4 separate regions of the Homo sapiens genome follow, and regions 2, 3 and 4 are each linked to region 1. Evidence: promoter capture Hi-C in human tissues and cell types (Jung and others, 2019). All regions are on one chromosome and are shown on one strand. The core of a region is centred on a gene start or on the middle of the fragment in contact, and the rest is flanking DNA. Distances in the headings are between cores, read along the strand shown. Region 1 holds the start of DNTTIP2 (deoxynucleotidyltransferase terminal interacting protein 2). Region 2 overlaps FNBP1L (formin binding protein 1 like). Region 3 overlaps BCAR3 (BCAR3 adaptor protein, NSP family member). Region 4 overlaps FNBP1L (formin binding protein 1 like).

Region 1 (2,700 bases), core at 79-2,578:
GAAGTAAAATGCACTTTAAAAGATCAGGAGGGCTGGGCGAGGTCGTTTAGGCCTATAATCCCAGCACTGTAATCCCAGCACTTTGAGAGGCCGAGGCGGGTGAATCACCTGAAGGCAGGAGTTCAAGACCAGCCTGCCCAACATGGTGAAACCCCGTCTCTACTAAAAATACAAAAAAAAAATTAGCCAGGAATGGTGGCGGGCGCCTGTAATCTCAGCTACTCAGGAGGCTGAAGCAGGAGAATCGCTTGAACCCGGGAGGCGGAGGTTGCAGTGACCCAAGATTGCGCCATTGCACTCCACCCTGGGCGACAGAGCAAGACTCCGTCTCCAAAAAAAAAAGTCAGGGACGGCCTCCTCTCTTTTAGATGCCGTCCCTAAAGACATGCACACAATTTATACCTAATTGGCTAAAACGTAGTCACATAGCCACATTTGGCTGCAAGAGAGACTATAAAATAAGCTATTTTAAGCTGGGAAGCAGTGTGTCCATCGACACAGTGTTCTGTGACTTTAAATAAAAAATTGGTTTTCTGTCATGAAGTAGAGACTAGGTTTGGTGAGGCACTCATTCATCCTTTCTCACCTCCAACAATAATTTGCGTTTACTTATTTTTTCAACCCCTTCCCATCCCCTCAAACATAGTTCTCTACCTTTTATCTCAAAAGATAACCAAAGAAACCTCTTGATTCTGGTCATACTCTTCCTTTCACTGTGACAATAACAACAACAACAACAACAACAAAACCTTATTCTTCTCCTTTACAATTTCTTTAACGTTTTTTTCTTTTCTGCTATTCCCAATCCCTAAACACCATCTCACGTTTAGATTATACAGCTTTCCACTTCGTCTCCCAGTTCCTGCGAGCACCTTATATCCCTTTTACCCCAACCAAGTCCTTAAATTTTATTTATAGTTAGCGTCACAATACACGAGTAAATATTGTCTTTCTTTAAAAAGCACAAATATCTCAAACTTCTCCCTTGGACATACCAATGGCTACATTAAGCTCTTTAGAACGTAGAAATGAAAGAACGCCTCCCGGGTTCAAACGATTCTACTAAACAAATGAAAGAACGAATGGCATGTAAGTGCGTTTTTACAATTCATGTGAACGGGTACGCTAAGACCCTCTGTCACTGCGGGCTTCGCCGCCCCGATGAAGGTCTTTCCCAGCAAAAATCTGGCTTGCCTTCTACAGCTCTGAAATGCACACTTAAACCCAGGCCCTTTGTCTCTGACCGCCCTGGCCTGAACTGGCTGGGCGGAGATTCTCGCGAATTCTCGGATCTGCGCGGAAAACGCGCTCGAGGCAGTTCTCTGACGCATTTCCGGAGCGCCAGGGAAGAGGGAAGTCGTGGTGGTCGCGAGGGAGCCGGAAAGATGGTGGTTACCAGATCTGCACGGGCTAAGGCCAGCATCCAAGCCGCGTCGGCTGAAAGTTCCGGGCAAAAGGTAGGAAATCCAGTCTTCCCTACTTCTCGCCGCTTCGCAGAGCCGCGCTCAGGCAGGCGGGGCGGCGCAAGGGTCCGGTTAAGGGTGAGGACCTGCCGACAGAGAGGACCCGAGCTTGCCGCGCGCTTGGGTCTCCCAGGCCCCGTGCTAAGCCTGTCACGGAAACTGTTTAGCCTTCACCACTGTCTCTTAAGGCAATTTTTAGTATGGAAGAGAGGTTAGATAACTTTATTTGGGTCGTTCAACTCCTTAATGCAGAAGCACAGTTCGAACTTTTAAACCTTACTGTTAACACGGTACCAAGGAGGGTTAATTTCGGCCACCATGCACAAGCCCCATTTAGGGGGGCTGGAAAAAAAGCTTCGTTTTCACGTGGGGAGGCTGGCAGCTGTCCAGCATCACCTCCTTAAGGCGTGAGGAGGGCTGTGGTGTCGTCGCCTGGTGACTCTTAGTGGCGTTAGTCGGCTGTCTCATTCTGACTCAGCGATGCAGGGAACGGAGCGGCGGCGATTTTTTCCTGTACGTAAAGGTAAGGGCGGCGACTGATTCCATCAGTGTGTTCCTAAACACATCGGTGTTCAGAGTTAATATTCCCTTTCTCCCCTCTTCTATAGGTGGGTCAGAATGTTGGTCTACCCATTATATTTGACTTTAAACAGAAAAATTTTAATCGTTCTGCTTCTGAAGTTACATCTAGGAAGGATGAGGCTAGTGAAGTAAATGCAGGGTTGGCTCCAGTGTTTAAATTTTGATTTTTTTGTTTGTTTGTTTTTGATTCGGAGTCTTGCTCTGTCGCCCAGGCTAGAGTGCAGTGGCGCAGCCTCGGCTCACTGCAACTTCTGCCTCCCGGATTCCAACAATTCTTCTGCCTCAGGCTCCTGAGTAGTTGGGATTACAGGTGCGCACCAACACGCCCCGCTAATTTTTTTACTTTGAGTAGAGATGGGGTTTCACTATGTTGGCCAAGCTGTCTCGAACTCCTGACCTCGTGATCCACCTGCCTCGGCCTCCCAGAGTGCTGGGATTACAGCCGTAAGCCACCGCGCCCGGCCAAATTTTGATTTTTTAAAAATCATGAGTTGGGCAGGTTTTTTTGTTTTTTGTTTTAAAGGTAATCTTGTTTACTGGGTTTTAGCTTTTGGGGTCAGTATTTCATTTGCTTTGCCCTTGTTCCAGCCCTACCTAAATTACAGTGTGTTTTCTCTGGTTTGCAGAGTTTTGCTGCTAATGGGATTCAAGCGCA
Region 2 (2,700 bases), core at 200-2,699, 340 kb after region 1:
TATAATTAAATGTAACATTTAATTAATAACAGAATCCCTAGCCTCTTTCCCCAGTGGCCTGTAGATTATGGATATTCAACAAGCTTGCTAGAAAAAAGTAGGGCATCCTAAGTGTTGCTTTTTTTTTTTTTTTTTTTTTTTCATTTACCAATCACCAGAAACAAGGATATCAATCAACCCAATCTGGCCTAAATAAATCAATGGTGAAATTTCCTTTGTTGAGTTCCTTTAGATTTACTGGTTAATTTGCAACATAAATTTGTCATATTTAATCTACTTTGGAGTTGAAGGTTTTTTGTAGAGATAGGGTCTCATTCTGTTGCCCACAATGGAATGCAGTTGAGTGATCATAGCTCTCATGGCTCACTATAGCCTCGAACTCCTGGGCTCAACCAATCCTCCCGCCTTAGCCTCCCAAATAGCTGGGATTACAGAAAAGGAGTACAAGTTTTGAAAACTAGTATATATATATGCCAAAAATAAACTTCTTAATTTAGATTTTTAAAAATATTTCTAAAAATCTTGAAAAATTATTGAATAAAATGAAGAAATGCATTTCAACATACTGTGGAGTTTTTTTTTGTTGTCAAAATTATGATAAACTCACAATAACCTACAAGTAAATCTGCCAGAATTCCACTTATCCCTTATCAAACCCTGTTCTCAAATTTATGAACAGTAAACACTGAGGCACTTACATTTCTAATATCCCATTTGACATTGGAACTCTATTCTTACATAGAATATGAGAATTAAACTTAACTTTATTTCCTATGGATGTTCAGAAGACCTCTGGGGCATTTAACAACCTCTCTTACTACAAAGGAATTTATAAAAGGCTGATTCCAACAATGTAAAAAAGAGTGGTCTATTTTCCAGTAGCTTCCTATACAATAATTTTGGGGTTAGTTCCTAATGTAGATCCATTAATTTGTTTGAAATAAACATACCAAGGAACATCCCAAACACACACACACCTTCCCCGCCCCGCCCCACCCCCCACACAAACACACACAGGATATTTAGATCATTTGTGTTTCTATTCTCCTTCAATAGCACAGAAGAACCAAGGACTAACTCCATAATGATACTAGTTTGAAATTTTTCTTTCTTTTTTTGGAAAAATCTAATGACTCTGGGGATAAAACTACAAATCAAATTTATACGATTTTTTAAAGGCTATTAAGCAAAATAATATTTGCTAAATTTTCCTTCTGCATAACAAACTGTGGCTCTACCATGTAATCTTTAAAAAATGTTTAACCACAATTTTACGCTCCTCTGTAACATGACAAGGACTCCATTCAATGACATTTAAGAACTTAATGGGTTGATGACAATTAACCACATTTTCTAATCTTATGACATCAAGAGTACTGGCATATGCTGGACTATGAAACTATAAAAAGAAAAAACACACAAGGTGAAAACGTGGGATGTAATTTACCACTTGTTTTGAATTAAACAAAACAATGTTTTGAGATTACTTAATGTTGGCACAGTATATAGATCAGCACATAAGGCTTACCATCTTCACCGACCACTGAATAGTTCAATGGAAAACAGAAAGAAATGGTAAATTATTCACAGGAAACCATAATACAGAAGATGCAATAGCCTATTCTTTTTCACAATACTAAAATAAATCACGTACATTTCACAATCCAAACAATTATGCCAGAAAAACCATTTTAAGCACATTTTGGGAAAGTAAATTACTTGCAAAAAAAAAAAAAAAAAGCATACATTGATGATAATGGGCAGATATTTTCTATGTTTAACTAAAACTTAAAAATAAACATTCTACCTGTAATCATGCATTTTCTTTTAAAGTGAATTTTATGTAAGTGGATTTCACTTCTATAGCTCTTTATTCTCAAATTACTAATATTTGAAAAGTTGAATATGAACTCTAAGATTAAACATTTAAAAAGAAATCTTATGTGAAATATTAAAAAATAGAATGTTCTTTCCAGTGTGTTAAAGAAAACACTATTACCTACATTTTTATACTTCAAAGTACTGTTTGAATTTAAATATACCATGGTTAGATGAGGGTAACATTTTTACTTTCATTTTAAAATCTTTTAAAATGTACATTTAAAACACATTATTTTCAAAATAGTGAGTTATCCAGATTCAAGTTTCCCGTACACATTTCCTAATATATACAAGTATATAGGTTGAATTTTGCTTTAAAAATATAGCTTCCATTTTTCAGGTTTTATTTTAAAATCCATATGCTTGAACAACACTAAAAACATAACTTCAATTTTTAGAAAATTGATTAAAATGTATTCTTTCTGAAAATATGAAATGACACAGATTCTGAAGAGACCAACCATAGTGCTCTTGTACAACAATACTTTATATATGTATATATATGTGTGTGTGTACAGATATAGATATGTATATGGATTTGGATATATCTCCCACATTCTGTGGGTCAATAGGATTCTGCAACTGGCATGGCATCTATCTAGCATCCCAACTACACACCCACACACATACACACACACGGTGACCCAGAAAATGCAACGGAGCTTTATAAAGTTAATCTTCACATTCATCTCAATTAGTGAGCTGCCTGTAAAATTTTTACTTTTCCCTATTTTCTAAATCACATGTTTTAAGAGAAGGTGTTGGGGAGATGTCAGATAAAAAATTCACATTAAAAATATGAATGAATTTTAATAAATA
Region 3 (2,700 bases), core at 98-2,597, 300 kb after region 1:
TGAAGAGATGAGGAGGAACATGGGGGTGAGCTCAGGCCTGGAACTCATTACCTTGCCTCACGGACACCAGCTGCGCCTGGACATAATTGAAAGGTGAGCAGTGCCGTCCTCTGCACTTCCGACCCTCCCAGCTCCTTCCAGGCATCAGAGCAGCAGGTTTTAGAACAAAGAGAGGCGCAGCACCAGCCTAGCCCTGGGGTAACAGTACTTCAGGGCGCATGGCCTACAGCGACTCTTCCCAGAAGCCTGAGCCTGAGAATTCCTGGAGTTGCACACAAAGACAGCACAACTCAGGAACAAAGAATGTGTTCCCGTCCCTGCTCCTGGAGGAGTGGATGGAGAGAATAGATGGCCTGAAGCCAGTGACTCAATTGGCCTGTGTGAGCAGGAGTCACAGATCCTGCAGCCTGGGGCAGAGCTGGGGCCCCAGCACCTGGAGTCTCCTGGGTCTCCTGCCCAGCAAGCTGCCCCTTTGTCTCTTTGGGGGTTAAGATTGCTTGAGGAATTAGGAGGAGTTTGTGGGAAAGGCTGGGAAGAGCAGAGTCTAGACAGTGTTTTCTTTGAGGGGTGGACAAATAGGGTCAGAGGTTAGGGGATGACGGCACTGGTCCGGGGCCTCCGAGGCATCCCTCCCCTCTTCTCATGAAAAGCCAGGGCCCTGGGCATCCATTGAAATGGAATGTTTAGGAATTAGAAAGACACCAACAATGAGGTATGTTTTTAAGAAAAGAAGCTCTAGACTAGATATCCATATTACCACAAAGCCAGCCTTTTTGACACATTTTTTAAAAGTTGATTTGGGCAAGACTATCTTGTTAAGTTTTCTGTCTGTCCAGCCCATGTCCTAGTTGCCATTACTGACTGCCCATGGCTTTCCATGAAGTTCCAGGTCACAGTGCTGTCCAGGAAAGCTTTCTGTGGTAACAGACGCATTCTGCACTGGCTATTACAGTAGCCACCAGCCACATGTCACTCTCGGGCACCTGAAATGTGACTGATGTGATTGAAGGATGACTTTTTATAATTAGAATTTGCTGTTTTCACGGTAAAAAGCCACTTCTCGGGGGATGGATGTCGCTGCTTTAGAGTTTCCTCGGCTGTACAGCAGATAAAATGACTCCTATGCTGCTGCTGTTTTGGCCTCGCAGCCGTGGATACATCCCATAGAAAATACCCAGAATGCTGAATTGCAGCCATGTGGGAGGATGGAGGTGAAGAAGTGGGCCATGCGGATTTTGTTCGGGAATACCCATTGCTTAAGCCTCTGGGGAATTCTAGGTCCCGCTTCTGAATTTCCCTGCTCTTCCTGATGAGACTTTTCTAGGTTCCAGCCTCTCTCCGGGTGTCCCCTTTTTCCCTCCTGCCCTAGGGGCCTGACCTCCCGGCTCCACTAGCTTCGTTCTATCAGCAGAGGTGAGCTGTGCCACCACACTTTGCCATTTCTCCCATGAGACATTTCAGCCTGAAAGGCCGCAGGTTCCAGGCCTCATGAATCTGAGCCCTATTTTCTTAGTATCATTCAGTGTGCTGGGACAGGCTGAGGGTGACAGGTTTGGGGCTTCTCTCTTGGCTGTTTTCTGACTTTCCACTTCATTTGTCTTTTCTCCTGACTGCCTCTTGGCTGGGGTCTTGCTCCTTAGCTTGTTTCTTGTGACCTGTGGGATCTTCTTTTTAGAGCCTGGGGAGTAGTTTTATTAATTACAATGTGTTTATTAAATAAAGGCCAAGGTTATAGAGGTCCTGATGTGTCACATGATATCACCTTCTTGCATTTGAGAATCAAATACAAAACCACCCTTTATTTTTAATTTACCACCTCACCCATTCCAGGCATACTGCTCTGGAAGTGTCCTTCATGTGACATCTGAGTGCCTCCTCTTGCCAACCACAGGAGCTTTTGCTGCAGATTTGCCAGCCTGAGTTGTTTTTCCCATAGTCGGTGTATCCAGGAGGTTTCAGGCAAATATTGGTTGAGTGAATGGATATAACCATTCAGTTAACCATTTATACAACACTAGAGGGCCATTAAAACACAGGGAGAGAAAACACTGAATAAAGAATCAATTGAATGCAGCATGGGAAGTGAGTTTATAGTTAAAAGCAACATCTAAAATGTTCTGTCAATGTTAACATTTTGCAAATGGATAAGAAAACTCTTCCAAAAATGTATCAGATAACAGCTGGGCGTGGTGGCTCATGCCTGTAATCCCAGCACTTTGGGAGGCCAAGGCAGGTGGATCACTTGAGCCCAGGAATTCGAGACCAGCTGGGCAACATGGCAAAACCCTGTTTCTACAAAAAAACACGAAAATTAGCTGGGCATGGTGGCATATGCCTGTGGTCCCAGCTACGTGGGAGGCTGAGGCAGGAGGATCCTTTGAGCCAGGGAGGTCAAGGCTGCAGTGAGCCATGATCACACCACTGCACTCCAGCCTGGGCAACAGAGCAAAACCCTGTCTCAAAAAAAAAAAAATAATAATAATAATAATAATAATAAAAATATATTTTAGGTCTATGTTTGGATTCATTAATTGAGAAAGACAAATCAGGAGAAGGAGATAAATGGAGAAAAGAGGAAAGAGATGGAGACAAAGAGGGAAAATGGACCAAGATACACAGGGAGAGACATGTACAGAGACAACTCTAGTAACAACTGCTATTTATTAGGTGCCCGCCAGTGCCAGGCACTTTAATTATTAT
Region 4 (2,700 bases), core at 124-2,623, 410 kb after region 1:
TCACGCCATTCTCCTGCCTCAGCCTCCCGAATAGCTGGGATTACAGGCATGCACCATGACGCCTGGCCAATTTTTATATGTTTAGTAGAGATGGGGTTTCACCATGTTGGCCAGGCTAATCTTGAACTCCTGACCTCAGGTGATTCGCCCGCCTCGGCCTCCCAAAGTGCTAGGATTACAGGTCTGAGCCACCGTGCCTGGCCCATTTCCTGGACTTTCATATCTGAAACTATTGACATCTAACAACATAAGAAAGCTTTCTACTTATACAACAACAAAGACTCCCATCCATAGTCAGAGACAAGAGAAGCAAGCCAACTGGAGAGCCAATTAGTGGAAAAGTTTCTTTTAAAAAGTAACAGACAAGGCTGAGTGTGATGGCTCATGCCTGTAATCCCAGCACTTTAGGAGGCCAAGGCAGAATGACTGCTTGAGCCCAGGAGTTTAAGACCAGCTTGGGCAACATAAAGAGACCCTGTATCCACACACAAAAAAATTAGCTGGGCTTGGTGGCACACACCTGTAGTCCCAGCTACTCTGGAGGCTAAGATAGGATGCTCACTTGAGCCCAGGAGTTTGAGGTTACTGTGCTATGACAGCATCACTATACTCCAGCCTGGGCAACAGAGCTAGACCCATCTCAAAAAAAAATAAAGAAAGAAAAGAGAGCATAGCTAACATTCACACTTAGATTTTAAGTTTCTTAAATTAATGCCAAAACCAAACATCTCAGTATAAAAGAGTGGCTGGCAAGTTCAGGGAGGAATATCAAGGACAAATATGGTACTTTAACACCACAATTACATTTTTCCTTTTCTTTTTTTCTTTTAAGAGTCAGAGTCTCACTCTGTTGCCCAGACTGCAGTGGTGCAGTGACATGATCATAGCTCACTGTAACCTTGAATTCCCAGGCTCAAGTGATCCCAAGTAGCTGGAACGACAAGTGTGCACCACCATGTCAGGCTAATTTTTTTATTTTTATTTTCTTAGAGACAAGATCTTGCTATATTGCCCAGGCTGATCTCAAACTCCTGGCCTCAAGTGATCCTCCCGCCTCAGCCTCCTGAGTTCCTGCCTGGCAATTTTTCCTTTTCTTAAACAGTACCACTGCCATCAATATTAGTTTTTATTTATAGTTTACTAGTACATACTACCACAGAAATTTATGGTGAACATTCATACTTAAAAGTTAACTAAGGTAACAAAGGATTATAAATCATGCTACTATAAAGACACATGCACACGTATGTTTATTGCGGCACTATTCACAATAACAAAGACTTCAAACCAACCCAAATGTCCATCAATAATAGACTGGATAAAGATAATGTGGCACATATACACCATGGAATATACTATGCAGCCATGAAAAAGGATGAGTTCATGTCCTTTGCAGAGACATGGATGAAGCTGGAAACCATCATTCTCAGCAAACTATCGCAAGGACAGAAAACCAAACACTGCATGCTCTCACTCATAAGTAGGAGTTGAACAATGAGAACACATGGACACAGGGAGGGGAACATCACACACTGGGGCCTGTTGGGGGGTGGGGGGTTAGGGGAGGAATAATGTTAGGAGAAATATCTAATGTAAATGACAAGTTGATGGGTGCAGCAAACCAACATGGCACATGTATACCTATGTAACAAACCTGCATGTTGTGCACATGTACCCTAGAACTTAAAGTATAAATATAAAAAAAAAAGTTAACTGAGGTAAGCAGGTATTTCTTTAGGAAAGATATACAAATGAACAATAAGCACAAGAAAAGATGCTCAATATTATTTGTCATCAAGTAAATGTAAATCAAAACCACAATAAGATACTACTTTATATCTAATTATGATGGCTATAACCAAAAATTCAGATGATATCAACCGTTGGCAAGGATATACAGAAATCAGGACTCTCACACATTCCTGGTGGTAATATAAAATGCAAAATAGTCTGGGAGTTCCTAAAATGGTTAAAAATAGAGTTACCATATGACTCAACAATTCTACTGTTAAGTATATACCCAAGAGAAAGAAAAATATATACACACAAAAACTTGTCCATCGGGCCAGGTGTAGTGGCTTACACCTGTAATCCTAGCACTTTGAGAGGCCGAGGCAGGCAGACTGCTTGAGCCCAGGAGTTTAAGACCAGCCTGGGCAACATGGCAAAACCCCATCTCTACCAAAAATATAAAAATTAGCCAGGCGTCATGGCACGTGCCTGTGGTCCCAGCTACATGGGGTGCTGAGGTGGGAGGATCGCTTGAACCCAGGAAGTCGAGGCTGCAGTGAGCCAAGACTGTGCCACTGCACTCCAGCCTGGATGACAGAGCGAGACCCTGTCTCCAAGAAACACAGAAAGAAAAATTTGTCCGTTAATGTTCACAGCACACAGCAGCATTATTCATGCCAAAAATAGAAAACACCTAAAAGTCAATCAACAGATGAATGGATGAATAAAATGTGGTATATGCATACAAGGGAATATTATTCAGTTAAAAAAAAAAGAACAAAGTAATGCATGTTACAGTATGCATGAGCCTTGAAAACATTTAAACTAACTGAAACATGCCAGTCACCAATGACCACATATGCTATAATTCCATTTATATGAAATGTCCAGAATAGGTAAATCTGTTGAGACAGGAAGATTAGTGGTTTCCTAGGGCTGGGGTTGGAGGAGAGGGAGAAGAAGGGAGTG

Evidence for each region. The method cuts DNA at HindIII sites, captures the fragments that hold promoters and counts their contacts. A contact is called where the count stands out against the background at its distance.
Region 2: a contact is called between a fragment that was not itself captured here and the fragment with the promoter of DNTTIP2 in region 1, in 3 of the 25 tissues and cell types used here (IMR-90 fibroblasts, aorta and hippocampus).
Region 3: a contact is called between a fragment that was not itself captured here and the fragment with the promoter of DNTTIP2 in region 1, in 1 of the 25 tissues and cell types used here (mesendoderm cells).
Region 4: a contact is called between a fragment that was not itself captured here and the fragment with the promoter of DNTTIP2 in region 1, in 1 of the 25 tissues and cell types used here (H1 embryonic stem cells).

What each region holds. Positions count from the first base shown.
Region 1 is chr1:93,877,834-93,880,533 of GRCh38, reverse strand. DNTTIP2 (deoxynucleotidyltransferase terminal interacting protein 2) reads left to right here and starts at 1,328. Exons shown (of 7, transcript NM_014597.5): 1 at 1,328-1,457; 2 at 2,672-2,700. The coding sequence starts at 1,386. RefSeq lists enhancers at 506-1,321, 1,173-1,602. The HindIII fragment of the contact is 10,129 bases long and covers 1-2,700 here.
Region 2 is chr1:93,539,885-93,542,584 of GRCh38, reverse strand. FNBP1L (formin binding protein 1 like) reads right to left here. Exons shown (of 17, transcript NM_001164473.3): 11 at 1,529-1,543. Among named protein-coding and RNA genes, the nearest start is that of TRC-GCA7-1, 25 kb to the right of the region's middle. The HindIII fragment of the contact is 5,357 bases long and covers 1-2,700 here.
Region 3 is chr1:93,573,407-93,576,106 of GRCh38, reverse strand. It overlaps BCAR3 (BCAR3 adaptor protein, NSP family member), which reads left to right. Exons shown (of 12, transcript NM_003567.4): 8 at 1-93. Among named protein-coding and RNA genes, the nearest start is that of BCAR3-AS1, 17 kb to the left of the region's middle. RefSeq lists an enhancer at 2,628-2,700. The HindIII fragment of the contact is 6,394 bases long and covers 1-2,700 here.
Region 4 is chr1:93,468,094-93,470,793 of GRCh38, reverse strand. All of the region lies in intron 1 of FNBP1L (formin binding protein 1 like), which reads right to left. Among named protein-coding and RNA genes, the nearest start is that of FNBP1L, 21 kb to the right of the region's middle. The HindIII fragment of the contact is 6,694 bases long and covers 1-2,700 here.